4 separate regions of the Homo sapiens genome follow, and all the other regions are linked to region 1. Evidence: promoter capture Hi-C in 16 types of primary human blood cells and fetal thymus (Javierre and others, 2016). All regions are on one chromosome and are shown on one strand. The core of a region is centred on a gene start or on the middle of the fragment in contact, and the rest is flanking DNA. Distances in the headings are between cores, read along the strand shown. Region 1 holds the start of CISH (cytokine inducible SH2 containing protein). Region 2 holds the start of LINC00696 (long intergenic non-protein coding RNA 696). Region 3 overlaps LOC105377087 (a long non-coding RNA gene). Region 4 overlaps RAD54L2 (RAD54 like 2).

Region 1 (3,521 bases), core at 739-3,238:
TGACAATGACATGAGGCTGCAAATTGCTGAGAGTGCTTGACACATAGTAAGTGTTCAGTTGAATAGTCATGGTGAGGGGGAAGAAGTATAGTTTTGGTAGAGAGCTTGGGATTTGGCCCCATAAGAGACCCAAGTTCAAAATTGTAACTCTGTTGCCTGGCAGCGGCAAAGTCCTTTTGTCTTCATAGTAATGAGACAGTGGACAGTTCCTACTGGCAAGTCAGTGGTCCACACAGGGGCCGCATATCAGGCTATCCAGGTATCCCAGCCCTCAAAGTGGGTTATAAGGTATCCATCCCCCCTACCCCCATTCCAAGAAAGTGGCTTCTGGCCAACTCAGGAGGGGGCTGGCAGAGTTGCACTCATGAAGCCCGGCTTCCCTTCAGGAAAGCTACAGAGAAGTGACTGCCCTGAAATCTGAAACTTAACGTTTTTTCCCCAGTTTCACAGGGTTTTGCTTTCAGGTTTCTTTTGCCCTCTGCCATTCTGGGCAGAGCAAACTGAGCCCTGTCTTCCCTGGATGCTATCGTTCAGGCCCTTCAACAAGGCCAGGGGTCTGTCATCCCTGCCCAGGATCTCAGAGCTAGACTCCTTTCTGGGGACCCTGGGGGCACACACTGGGAGGGGGATGGGGGTGGGGAGTGGACCCTGCAACCTCTCCAAATCCCACAGTTCTTCTGGCCCAAGGGTTTGGAGGAGATTCACAGACCCTACAGTCCTTCAAGATGCTCCATAGTGAATCCAGTGAACTGAAAAAAGGTGGAGAGGGTCCTGGTAGGAGCGTGGGCTTCTGATTCAGAGCTGGGACCAAGCTCTTACCCTGCCATTTCCTAGCATTTGTTCCCTGGGGCTGTCTTCTGTCCGCATAACGGGAGCAACACCAGTTGTAGAGGATCAAATGCAGCAAGTACTCCCTGTAGATAAGAGCGAGTGTTACTACTCTGCCCCCGCCATCCCGCCCCAACCTCTATCACCCTACTCCCAGATTATCTCCCTATGTTTTGAGTTGCAGGACTCTCTCTCAGCATTTTTTTTCTGGCGGGGGGTGGGGGTGGTACCAACCCAGAGTCCGGGCCATCTGGGGCTGTCTCTGCTTGCTTTCTCAAATCTGTAGTCTCTTCTCCCCTGACTGGCAGGGCCGGCCAGAAACCAGTGCCAGCCAAGACTGGATGGTCTGCCTGATTCGAAAAGTTGGGGCGTGCTTTCTCCTTCAACTCTTTCAAAGAAAACGTTCTTGTCTGGATCTTTCTGGCTGTGGTGACCGCCGGCTTGACCTCAGTGGACCCACTCATTTCTGGAACTGTCCTCTGCACCCCGCCCTGCCCTAAGTCCCGCTCCAGATCTCACCCCATGCCACCCAATCCGACACCCGACACACAGAGTCCTAGGGTCCAGGAGCGGCCGTCCCAACACGGGGCGCTTGCACACGCCGACAGACCTCCTTGGAGGAGCCGCTCGCAGGGAGGACAAGCCCGGGACTCCGCCCCCCGCCCTGCCACGAGTTCCACCGCGAGATAAGAGGGCCCTTCCCCAACGACGCAGAATGCCAGAAGGCAATCTGGGCGCGGGTTGCTGAGCCCGGGCCCCTCCTTAACTTCCCCGACCCGGTCTTTCCCCACTGATCTCTCCGACCTGCCCCTCTGGGTAGCTTCAGCCCCGGGTCCACGCGCTGCTATTGGCCCTCCCCGACCGCTCGGCTCCACCTTCAGCGTCGCGATTGGTCAGCTCGCGGGGCCCCGCCCCGTTTTCCTGGAAAGTTCTTGGAAATCTGTCAAAGTATTTCCTTTCACTGCTCAGGGCCCCAGACCCGGCGACGGGGCCCGCGCACCCCGCCCGGGCCCCACCGCTCAGCCCGCGGTTCTAGGAAGACGCTGCTTCCGGGAAGGGCTGGAACGCGGCAGACAAAGGATTAGGCAGCAGCTCGCCCCGCCCCGCTCGTCTGGCCCGCCCCCCTCGCCCTCGCAGGCGGTCCGCGCCACTGCCTCTCAGTCCCTGTCCTGCGCCCGCGCGCCCCGGGAGCCTACCCAGCACGCGCTCCGCGCCCACTGGTTCCCTCCAGCCGCCGCCGTCCAGCCGAGTCCCCACTCCGGAGTCGCCGCTGCCGCGGGGACATGGTCCTCTGCGTTCAGGGGTAAGCGCGGCTCTCTGCCCCCTTCCCGGCCACCACGAGGGGCGCACGGGAGAACAGGGGCTTCGTGCTAGCTGCCGGGCATTGGGAGGGCTTGACGGGCCAGAGGTGACTGAGCGCAGACGGACCTCAGGAGCAAGGCTCTGTGTGGGGCTGTGACACTCCCACTCCCCGCCCCCACACACTTACCTCAATTCCCACTGTGGATTGGGAAACCGGGGGCTGGCCGGCTAAAGGAGGAACTCACAGGGTGGGCTCAGCCTGGGTTCTCATTGGAGCAGATGGATGCTAACGGCACGGCGTCCCCCAAGATGTGGCCAACAATCCCAGATATTCTTCTGGGCCCAGAGCACTCTACGCTAGCCTGCCTGCTGCCCTGCCTGCTAGTAACCTTGGACCAGCCCCTGGCCCCCTCTGTCCTGGTGTCCCCTCTCCTGCCCCAGGCTAGCAAGTAGGCTCTTCTTGGGAAGCCAGCCGCAGATCCTTGCCTTTCCTCAGGCTGGCACCTGATGGTCTGCAACTCTCGGGAGGCCCTGGGTTTGGCCTGGTCCTGCTTGGGGTACCCCCACAATCGTCTCACAACCCTGTCTCAGCCCAGTCTGGGATCCCAATGTGAGAAGGACCTTGGCTCCTGCCTCTCATCTTCAAATTTCCCAGACTTGAGGTAAGGGACAGTGGAGAGGGGATGCTGATAAGACAGAGTCTTGACCTGAGCTGAGCATTCCTGGCCATCCACTCTGTCCTGAACCTCAGCAACCCCTTCAACCAAAGGGTCTGATGCTGGCCATGGTGATGTGACAGGAGCTCAGGAAGCTCCAAGGAGAGAGGAAGAAGGTATAAATGGGTGTTCTGCACTCAGGGAGGACTGGGTGGCTGTGCTTATCGCAACTGGCCTGGTGCCAAGTGAGGGAGGGTGGAAGGTGAGGCCAAGGAAGAGGACATGGAGGTGCTGGGAAGACTACTTCTCCCTTGCTGTCTCCAGCAAGTTCCTTCCTCCTGTCTGCATTCTGGGACTCCTGAATACCTGCCCCACCACTGCCTTCCACCCCAGGAGCCTCCCCCTGCATTCCGGGGTCCCATAGCCTCTTTCACTTTTTACCCTAGGTGAGCACCCCCTTGTAAGCTCAGGGCTACTGTTGGGTGTCAGGGAACAAAGTTTTAGACTGCTGCGCTCCAAAGCGGGCACACACATGTACCTAGAACACACCAGCCACTGTCCCCACCATGATGATGACACAGCCATGGACACACCCCTGCCCAGGTACACACTCACCAGGAGCTTGTGGTGATCAACACAGCTATTCATACACCCAGCTACCACATCAGCCCCAAAGGTGCCCACACCTACATGTGGGATCTGAGGACCGGCTAAGCTATCTGGACGTGGCCACCC
Region 2 (3,521 bases), core at 267-2,766, 1.5 Mb before region 1:
ACAGCCCGGGATCTGGGGACTCCTTATAGAGGAAGAAACTGAGGCTTGGAGAGGGGAGGCCAGTGGTGGTCAAAATTGGAGCCAAGTGTCTTGGTCAGGCTCCCCTATCTCCACCCCAACCCAATCTTATCCCTGCCCTGTCCCAACACACATGGCATACTCACACCTTGGTCACCTGAGGGCCACATAGGGCTGTCCTGCTATGCCTGGCAAAGGGCCTGCCAGGTGGTCAGCACTTGACCTTCTCTGGCACAGGTGGGTCAGGCCAAGGCCACTCCTGCTGCCCAAAGTGCATAGGGGTAGTCGAGGGCCCATACCCAGCCACTTAGGACAAAGAGGCCTTTCCTTTCCCTCTGATGGGCCCAATGTGGAACTTCCCTGGCTGCCCCATAGTCCCTGGGAGTCAGGGGAGGCAGAAGGTACTGCCCTGCTTTATAGATGGAGAGATTAAGGCCCAGGGGCTGGGGCACTGCAGAGGCCCCCCAAGTGTGTTGCAGGCAGCAGAGCTGTGTTTCCCCAGCTCCATGGGCTCCAGCTCCTTGGGCCTTTTTGTTGTTCCTGGGAGCTCCAAGTCTGGGTAGTGCCCATGGCCTGGGGAATCCAGCTACCCCTCAGACTGAGTTCTTGGGCCGGGCCTTGGGGCTGTGGGCTGGCTGATGCTTCAGGGTCTCTGGGGAGGTCTCCAGCTCCAGCCAAATGCCTCCCAACACTCTTCAGCCCACCAGCCCTGGGCTCAGCTGCTCCTAGGGCTCAGGCTAGAGGGTTGTCCTGTTGGAGATGGGTGTCAGGGCAGTGCTGTCCTCTGCTGGGAGACTACGTAAGCCACGGGGAGGGGCAGGGAGGTGGGCAGGGGCCCAGGCAGAGTAGGCCCTTGTCCATCCTGTCCCCACCTTGGAGGGCCCACTAGGAGCCCTGAGAGAGCCATTGAACTCCTCCCTCCTCGAGGGCCTGATCTTTTCAGGAAGGGAGTCATCCAAGTCTTGAAGCATGTGCGCCTGTGGCCGGAGTCAGGCTGGGTGGGGCCAGGGCAGGAAGGGGAGTCCTTAGACTATTTCCTGCTGTTGCCTACCTGGGAACAGTCCGCATCCAGGTCCCGGCAGGCAGCTGGCCAGCTGAACCACGTGGAATGGTGCTGGGCTATGAGGCCTCAAGCCAGCAACCCTGCACCTGGGCCAGGCCAGCCGGCTCCCAAGCCATTTCCCAGCTTCGTCATGGTCACCCTCACTGTCACCATCAATGCCTCATAGGAAGGATTCCTGAAAAACGGGGCCGTGTGGGCAGGCAGGGAGGGGACCAGACAGGCCCAGGCAGCAGGCAGATGCTAATGAGGCAATTAAGCCCCTGGCACATCCGCCCACGAGGTGCCATGAGAACTCCTGGCCTCTTTTGCCCTCCCCGCCTCAAAGGTTGGACTGTCTTCACTGTCAGGAACCTCCCACTGCCAGCTCTGCCAATCAAAAAACCATAGGTTGGTTTGGCAAAGATAGAACCAGGGCAACCCCCAGCCCCATCACTACTTCTTGCCATTGCTCTGGTTGAGCAAATGCCTGCCCGAGATGTCTTCTCCCCCTCCCCATCCCCTGCTCAAACCACCTGGGCTCCAGGCCCTTCCTGGCAGAGGTGGCCTTCGAAAGATCAGAAATTTTGAGCAGGGGGCCAAGAGTGCCATGGTGGCCACGTGGGCATGCAGCTAAGGATTCCTGCTCCTGCAAAGCCCTGGCTCCCATCCCTCAGGCTCCCAGGTGGGCTCATGGCGTGCAGCCCACAAGCCCTGGAGTGTAAGGCAGGCGAGAGATCATCCCAGGGCAGAGATGCTGAGGATCGTGGGGAAGGGGATGCAAGAGGCGAGGGTGTAGCCCTCACCCGTGGCTTTGGAGCAGGGAACCCAGTCCACCTGGGTTTATCTGAGTCCTTTCCCCTTCTCCTCTGCCTGCCTCTGAGGCCCGAGGACATCAGATGCAGCACACCTGATTTCCCTGGGCTGTTGAGTGTCTTCTCCTGGCTCTCTAGGGATGACCTCCGTGTCAGCAGATGGGGTGCCCAGGTGAGTCAGAACCCCTGACCCAGCCCAGCCCCTCCTCCAGGCTTGAAGGGGGGTGGCGGTGGGGTATAGGACTAAAACCCAGGCTTAAGACCCCAGGGACCTTCAGGTCCATGAAGAGGTGGGAGTTTGGGCTCATTCTGTGGAGGACGGAGGAGCTGTAGCTGGGTGGGGGAAATCAAGGGCTATGGTCCAAGGCCAGGATGAGGCCTGCCAGGCAAGGTGCCAGCAGGTCCATCCCTTCATGTCAGGGAGCCCTCTGGCTCCAGAGACTCTCACTGAGTGACTCTGGGCAGGTCATACAGAACAGGCTGAGGCCCAAGGAGGGAATGGAAGTAAGAGGCTTCTGGAATCATCGAGTATGGCAACGGAGGGCCAAAGATGTTTTGTTTTGTTTTGTGGGTTTTGTTTGCTTTGGTTTTTTGAGACAGCCTCTCGCTTTGTCGCCCAGGCTGGAGTGCAGCGGCATGATTATGGCTTACTGCAGCCTTTGCCCCTCAGGCTCAAGAAATCCTTCCACCCAGTGTCCTGAGGAGCTGGGACTACAGACATGCACCACCACACCCAGCAATTTTTTTTTTTTTTCCTGTAGAGATGGGGTTTCGCCATGTTGCCCAGGCTGGTCTCGAACTCCTGAGTTCAAGTGATCCACCCACCTCAGCCTCCCAAAATGCTGAGATTACAGGTGTGAGCCACCACGCCTGGCCCCAAACATGTTTAAATCATAGGACCATGTGCTCATGGCTGACAACACAGAAGAGTCTAGAAGTAGGCCAGGGTTCCAATCCTGGCTCTGCCACTTCCCAGGTGCCCACTGTGGCCCTCAGAGGATGAGTGGGTTTGGGGGACAGAATAAGAAGGTAGTCAAAGGCGAGAGCTGGGAGAAGAGGGTTTCAGAAGGGGGATCAGTGAGGGCAGAGGCCCTGCAGAAGGAGCCCGGGCTGGGGAAGTGCGGGTGAGAGAGTGAAAGCTGCTGGAGAATCCAGGACGAGGAGAAGAGGGAGGGGAGGGGTCACAGAGCATCGTGTAGACTCTATGCAGAGTGTAGACTCTATGCTGGGGACAGTGGGAGGCTGTGGAGGAGGAGAGGCTGCCTCCACCTTCTCAAAAGATCCCTCTGGCTGCTGTGTGGGGAATGACTGTCGGGATGGAGGCAGAGGCCTGGAGAGGAGGCACGGGAGGTGGTCTAGGGGAGAAGGGGGAGAATCTGGGCTGTGTAGTGGTGGCCAGATGGCTTCTGAAATTGAGTACTGGGATGGATTAGCCATCTCTGTCATGGAAGTGGAAAAGGCGTTTGGTAGCACGAATGTTCTGTGGAAGACAGAGCCCTTCTCTTTATGGGCATGCACAGCTGCCTGTCCTCCCAGTCTGTCTCCCACCCTGCTAGCGCTGGGCCTCCCCAGAGACGGGAAAGAGCTGGCAGAGCAGGGCTCCCTGTGGACTGTACTTGAGCCTGGAGGAGACTGGAGCCACAGTCAGA
Region 3 (3,521 bases), core at 319-2,818, 1.2 Mb before region 1:
AGAATCGCTTGAACCTGGGAGGCAGAGGTTGCAGTGAGCTGAGATAGCGCCACTGCACTTCAGCCTGGGCAACAGAGCGAGACTCTGTCTCAAAAACAAACAAACAAACAAACAAACAAACAAAAACAACCTTTGTTTGCAATGCAGTTCCACCCTTCACCTTCCTACAACTTATCACCACCCCTACTAGAGCCTAGAAGAACTTTGCCTTCAGCTATTGTTTGTGCTTCAGTCTCATTCATCCTTCTTAAAAATCATTTACTCTTCCTCTAGAATTGTCTACATCTTCCACTTTCCTCTCCCATGTGAAGAAGGTATTTAAGCTTCAATTATCTGACTTTTCTTTGAGTTTCATGCTTGTATGATTCCCATGTGCTTGCATGCTAATACATTTGTATGCCTTTTCTCTTGTCTGTCTATCGTCAGTCTATTTCAGCAGATTCAATTATCAAAACTTCAGAGGGAAAATTTAAACTTCCCTGGAGGTGTCAGGTAGCCTAAAATCTGGCTAAAGCCCACCACTGTGAGGAGGTTTCCGTGGGAAAAATATATCGATGTAATTTACCATATTAACAGATCAAAGAGGAAAACAGTGAAATCCTTCCTGCTTGAAGCTGCCTTTGCAAAAATTATAACTGAGAGAATTCTGACAGTGAAAGAGATCTGACCCAACTAACTCCATCTTGCTTCGAACCTCCAAGCTGTTCTTGTTCATTCCTGGGCATAGGCTGAACTAACTTTGGGAGGAATTTAGTTTGTAGCCCAACTTTGAAACAAAGATGGTAACAGCCCTTTCCAAAACAAACCTCCTTCCTGCCTGGGGGTTAGACTGCCTTTGCAGAACTAACAAATTAGCCACAAGATTAGAAATTATGGTTTAGGAGTCATGCAGTTAGAAGCTGCAAGATTATGGACCTCCCCAAATTGTCCCTGGGGATAACATTACTGTTGTAAAACCTAAGATCAGTACTTGAGATATTTTCAGACCCTGTACTTGATGGATCAGTAGACACCACCCAAACCAGTAAACTGGTTCATTTGGTCTTGTGGCCTCCCCACCCAGGAACTGACTCAGCACAAGAGAACAGCTTTGACTCCCTATGATTTCATCTCCAACCTGACCAATCAGCGCTTCCCACTTTCTGACCCCCTACCTGCCAAGTTATGCTTAAAACCCCCTATCCCCAAGCTTTCAGGGAGACTGATTTGAGTAATAATAAAACTCAGGTCTCCCATACAGCCAGCTCTGTGTGAATTAAACTCTTTCTCTATTGCAATTCCCCTGTCTTGATATTGGCTCTGTCTAGACAGCAGGCAAAGAGAACCCACCGGGTGGTTACATGCTGTTATTAAAAAGAAAAGCATTTAATAAACATCTTGATTGCAAAAAACAATTAGCACACAAGAATGGAAGGAAATGTACTTAATTTGCTAAGGCTAGATAAAATGAAACTCCTGCAAATGTCCTCACTGGTGGGAAAGCATAAGAAACAACCCCATTAAAGTCAGAGGGAAACGTGGTGCCACTCCCCACAATGCTTTTCAACGCTGTTCTTGAGTCTTTGTGCAACAGCAGAAGGAAGGAAAGAAGGAAGGAAGGAAGGAGGGAGGGAAAGAAAGAGGTATCATGCTGGAGGAAAAAAACTACAAAGTTGTCAGTATTTATAACTGATATGGTCACCTACTTTAAAAACCCCAAAGAATCAACTAACAAATTATTAGAACTACGAAATGCAAGGAGAATGCGATTATTATTGTAAGAAATTTCAACATCAGTAGCCAAAAAGCAGGGACATGGGGGAATTGAATAAACAGTAATCATCAAGCAGTCATCAGCAGATACATACAGAACTTTATATCTTTCAAACAGAGAATAATCATTTATTTCATATGTCCAGAGAATATTAACAAAGAACTGCCATGTACTTGGCCACTAAAAGAAGCTTAAAAACAACAAAAAAATAGAAATTGTATACATATTTTCAGTGATCATATCCAATAAAATCAGAAACAAATAATTTAAAAATTAATAAAAGTCTTACCTCATTGGAAATTAAGAAAAACTCTTAAAGGAAGGTGAAATCAAGATAAAATTGCAAACTACCCATAAAGCAATGAAAAAATAGACCACTTCCTAATAAAGCCTGGGCTTAGAGGGAATTTCACAGCCTCAATGCCTTATTATGGAGGATGGACCCCAACAGCCTCAAATGCCTTATTATGGAAGATAGACCCCCAAAATACATCCCAAAAATGTGGGAACTCATCCTAACAGTGAGAAAAAAGACAAAACAATCTAACATAAATGAAGACTAGGAGATAATAAAAGTTTGAATTAGTGAAATGGAAAACCAAGAAAAAAAGTTAAAGGAAAGATAAACTCAAAAGCTGTTTCTTTGAAAAACAGACAAACAAACAAACAGATAGACTCTCCAGTTCTCTTATAAACCAGATTAAAGAAAAAAAAGAGGGTAAAAATATACAAGACAGAAAATGAGAACTGAGACTCAACTACAGATGTGGTGAAATTAAAATTATATTAAGGAGAACAACACTATGCAAGTTTATGGCAAACCAAATTTGAAACTATTGAGGGAATGGATGGTTTTCTAACAAAATCTAAATTACCAAAATCAATCCAAGAAAAAATAGAAAACTTGAATAGAACAATTACCAAGGAAGATTATATTTTTATATATTAAATATTGCCCTGGAAGAAATAGTTTCATAGCTGAGCTTTATCTAACCTTTAGAGAGAAGATCATTCCAAAGATATTTAAACTATTCCACATAATAGAAAAAAGAAAAGAAATTCTCCAATTCATTTTACGAAGCCAGATTACACTTCATACCAAATCTGATAAAGATAGCTCCTCCCCCAACAAAAAGATAGACCAGAGAGGTTGGCAAACATTTCTGTAAAGAGCCAAATAGTAAATATTTTAGGTTTGGGGCCATACAGTCTCTTTTGCAAGTACTCAACTCTACCACTCACAAAAGCACTCCGAACAATATGTAAATGAATGAGTGCAGTAGTGTTCCAAATAAATCTTTATTTATGAACACTGAAATTTGTATTTGATATAATTTTCCATTGTCACAAAATACTACTCTTCTTTTAATTTTTTCGCAACCATTAAAAAATGTAAAAACCATTCTCAGGTCGTGAGATGTACAAAAACGAGTCGTGGGCTGAATTTGGCCCAGGGGCAGTAATTTGCTGACCTCTGCTATGGCCCAATCTCAGTAATCAATACAGATGTAAATGTAAAAAAATTGAACATTACCAAATAGAATCCAGCAGTGTGTCCAAAGAACAAGACAGTAAGAGTAAATAAGGGTTATTCCAGAAATATTCAACATCAGGAAAAGGTAGTCATATGTCTTTACATGAACAATTTAAAGGGAAAACAAAAAGCCCCCTGATCAACTTAATATATGCTGAAAATGCTGGTTATAAAGTTCAGCAGCCAATCTTAATAAAACTCTGAGAAAAACTAGAATAGAAAGAAACTGCTACA
Region 4 (3,521 bases), core at 632-3,131, 1.1 Mb before region 1:
GTGGTCATTTCTCCTGCTTCTCAGAAGGTGGTGAGCTTTTCCCAGGAAACCATTATAAGGAAGTGCCCATTCTTTATCTTGTTCTCTCTGCTCACTTCCCTTAGCCTGATTGGGGAACTCTAGAGCCCCACATCAGAGTTCAACATGTGCCTCAGGAGCTTCAGCACCTCTTTTGTGGGAGGAGAGTCCGCTGGTGACTGGGGCTGCAGGCCATGACATCAGCCTGCCCAGCTTCACCTCAGGCTGCTTCCAACAGTGCCAAGTGAGGTCCCTTGGCAGGATCCCTGCAAGGCAGCGGCTGGCCACCAGGAGGCAGCAGCCTACTCTACAAGGCACTTTCTTCATTCCAACCCCTTGTAACAGGTCTGAGGAAACCTGTTCGCCCAGCCATGTGCTGCAACCATCCTCCACTCCCAATCTTATCTCCCAATAGCACAGATTCCCCTATCATGAGTCCAGACTTGGCCTTCATCTCCTCTTGCCTTCCTCTGTCCAAGGAATCACTACAGAGATTCTTTCTCTATCCTTCTTTGTAAATTTCCAGAAAATTGTTTCCCCAGGGCCCCTCCCCTTGAAGAAATTAAACAGGAAGCTGGAGTAGACTGTCCCTTCTTTCCCCCACCTCTCACACTCCAAAGCTCTGTTTAACTCTGTGGGCCAGTGGCTAGATTCCCCAACATGGATGACAGAGAATACACATGCAATAAGAATGTTTTCGCTGCCACCAGCCACTCACAGACACACTGTCTCCCACCCTCTGAAGGCATTGTGCCCAATCCCCAGCCACTCACTGTCTAGTCAGGGCTGCCCCTGCAGGACTTGCCTTGGCTGAGGACCAGCTAGCTTCAAGCCACTCTGAAGTCAGCTTGCTGTTTCCCCTGGAGCCTGGTAATACATCCTTCTTCAGGTGAACAAAAGCAGAAAAAGCCCAGTGAACCCCACTGCAACAAAGAGCCTGCCATCAGTCTTCCTTCTGTTCCTGCCTATCTCATCACCCAAGGGCTATCCCAGAGCCCACTATGTTCTAAGATCTATTCCTTTCACCACCACCCAGCCAAACAACTATCCAGACAATTCCTTGATCAAACAACACTGCCTTCTTGAGTTTAAATTTTATTTTACAAAAAGAGAAATAAAGAAAACTGATAGGCAGTTATACTGACTTACAATTGTTCTGTTTGCTTTTTTTTAAAAAAGTGACATGAAACACAAGTAAAAATAAATACGTCATAGAAACAGCCAGTTGCCCAGTCTCTGGGGCAGGAGCGCCTGCCCTGCTGAGAGGAGGGAAGCCCATGATCACACCAGCAGCTGGATCACCCAGCCACAGATGCTCCTCGAAGCCAGGCACAGGTCCCAGGCCTCAGGGGCGTCCTGAGGAAAGAAGACGGAAAACCAAAGCCAGGTGCCAGGACCCTGGGGCCACCTCATTATCCCCCACTCCTCCTGGCAGCAGTCTGGTCTTAGTGGTTATCCATAGCGACCCCCCTTAACCCACCTGGACCCTCTTCCCCTGACCTCTCTGAAGATGGTACAAGGGAAAAACCTGTCTTGGGCAGGCTGGGGGGGATTCTTCTGGTGAGTCCCCAGCCCACCCTGAGTAACACAACCAGATAACAGTCATTTTACACCCAGGTGCACATGAGCACAGCACACAAACACACACACACACACTCACACACACACACACACACAGCTGGGCTGAGCTCTCTTCCAGGGAGGGTCCTGGGTCCAGTCACAGTATGAGGTCCTCTCTCTTCTGAATATCATCCCAGTAGTGGCAGCAGAGAGTACCCAAACCTCCCCAAGCCCTCTGCATTGCAGACACTGCAGCCTGCTTGGCTACCCCTCCCCAACACACTAGATTACTATGTCAAATAGACCTGCAAAAGGGAAAGGTGCACACTCAGGTCCCTGAAGAGCAAAGAAGTTGGACACTGCCTGCTCAAGAAGTTCATTGTTATAAGACTCAGGTATTCATAAAAGGCCTAGGGCTAAGCTAGTAGCACAGAAAAGCCGTTAAGGGGATCACAGCAGAATACACAGGGCAGAAGAGAAGAGTTGGCAGCAGGGGAACGGAGTCTCAAGGTGACCAATAGAGAGCACAACATTCTCAAATAGTCCTTGAGGTGCTGATTCCTGGGAGTAGTCAGCAGAGGGCCAGAACATCTCCCAGGGGTCCTTTTGGGGAAGGATGACTTCACTTAGTTTTAGGGGTGAAGAGCCACTGAGCTGGGTGCACAGAAGGCCATGGCTCAGAAGGGAAAGACTGATCTGAGAAATCAAAAGGAAGTGGGGGCCAGGAGCAGTGGCTCACGCCTGTAATCCCATCACTGGGAGGCCGAGGAGGGTGGATCACTTGAGGTCAGGAGTTCAAGGCCAGCCTGGCCAACGTGGTGAAACCCCGTCTCTACTAAAAAATATACAAATTAGCTGGGCATGGTGGTGTGCACCTGTAATCCCAGCTACTTGGGAGGCTGAGGCAGGAGGATCGCTTGAAACCGGGAGTGGAGGTTGCACGGAGCCAAGATCACACCATTGCACTCAAGCCTGGGTGACAGAGCAAGACTCTGTCTCAAAAAAAAAAAAAAGGAAGTGGGAAGCAGAAGGTAATATCCAGAACACTAGTAACAAGGAATGTAAAGCCCCCAGAAGACCTTCCCCATGGGATGAGGACTCAATTTCAGAGCAATGCCAGGTTTGAATAGACTCACACAGAGGGCCCTTCTCTGCTGACAACTTTGGGAGTGATGGTCCTACCCAGGCCACTTAAGTTTGGCTAAGTGTTTCAACCAATCTGCAAAACTGTACCCCAGCACTTTGCTTCCTGCTCCTGAATTGAGAAATTTCATATTTAGTTGTGAATCACAAGCATATAGAGACTCCACACACTAATTCCTAGGGAAGAGAGCTCCAAGGATCACAAGCATATAGAGACTCCACACACTAATTCCTAGGGAAGAGAGCTCCAAGGACCAGACAGAATTATCCTTAAATCAGGAGATGATGAGATAGATGCCTAAAAAGCATAACTCAAAGGGGTGTGGACTTCATAGATATCCAATCTAAAGAAAATGATATGACCCAACATGGTTCACTTCCTTTCTTAAATAGCTACTTTGTCCCTGTTCAATTTTTATCTACAAATATATTAAGAAAAGGAAATCAAGCATCACTATAAATGGTAAACCTCAATCATTAAGTAGTACTGTGTTCCCCAGGCTGAGAACTTGGCTAAACCAGATGAATGGGGCTTGAGAGGCCCTTGAAAACATTCCATGGAAGACAATGGTAAGGGAAAACGCCTAGGCCTGATTTTCTGCCCTCCCTCTTATCACCAGCCACCCTGCCCCCCTCAGGCCTGGATAATGGGTGGAAGACACCACCAAGTGTTTATGATCAAAGAAACTATAAAACATGGTTCTTAGGCTCTGAGATACTTCCTGCTTCCCTCACAAACATGCTTATGTTTGGTGTGCATGCACATTTGCCTATCAGCACATATAAAGAGACAGTGGAAA

The links. The method cuts DNA at HindIII sites, captures the fragments that hold promoters and counts their contacts. A CHiCAGO score of 5 or more calls a contact.
Region 2: a contact is called between the fragment with the promoter of LINC00696 here and the fragment with the promoter of CISH in region 1, in 1 of 17 cell types (total B cells). The highest score is 8.2, in total B cells.
Region 3: a contact is called between a fragment that was not itself captured here and the fragment with the promoter of CISH in region 1, in 1 of 17 cell types (naive B cells). The highest score is 6.2, in naive B cells.
Region 4: a contact is called between a fragment that was not itself captured here and the fragment with the promoter of CISH in region 1, in 11 of 17 cell types (total B cells, naive CD4 T cells, fetal thymus and 8 more). The highest score is 11.4, in total B cells.

Annotation. Positions count from the first base shown.
Region 1 is chr3:50,610,241-50,613,761 of GRCh38, reverse strand. CISH (cytokine inducible SH2 containing protein) reads left to right here and starts at 1,988. Exons shown (of 3, transcript NM_145071.4): 1 at 1,988-2,131. The coding sequence starts at 2,112. It also overlaps a transcript of MAPKAPK3 not described here. RefSeq lists enhancers at 1,470-1,559, 2,469-3,029 and a silencer at 1,640-2,119. The HindIII fragment of the contact is 4,554 bases long and covers 1-3,521 here.
Region 2 is chr3:52,063,107-52,066,627 of GRCh38, reverse strand. LINC00696 (long intergenic non-protein coding RNA 696) reads left to right here and starts at 1,516. Exons shown (of 1, transcript NR_027331.1): 1 at 1,516-3,521. The HindIII fragment of the contact is 16,366 bases long and covers 1-3,521 here.
Region 3 is chr3:51,794,573-51,798,093 of GRCh38, reverse strand. The region is part of intron 2 of LOC105377087 (a long non-coding RNA gene); the gene reads right to left. Among named protein-coding and RNA genes, the nearest start is that of IQCF6, 17 kb to the right of the region's middle. The HindIII fragment of the contact is 754 bases long and covers 1,192-1,945 here.
Region 4 is chr3:51,666,240-51,669,760 of GRCh38, reverse strand. It overlaps RAD54L2 (RAD54 like 2), which reads right to left. Exons shown (of 23, transcript NM_015106.4): 23 at 1,101-3,521. It overlaps LOC124906237 (a long non-coding RNA gene), which reads left to right. Exons shown (of 2, transcript XR_007095907.1): 2 at 105-1,144. Among named protein-coding and RNA genes, the nearest start is that of TEX264, 3.3 kb to the left of the region's middle. The HindIII fragment of the contact is 4,778 bases long and covers 1-3,521 here.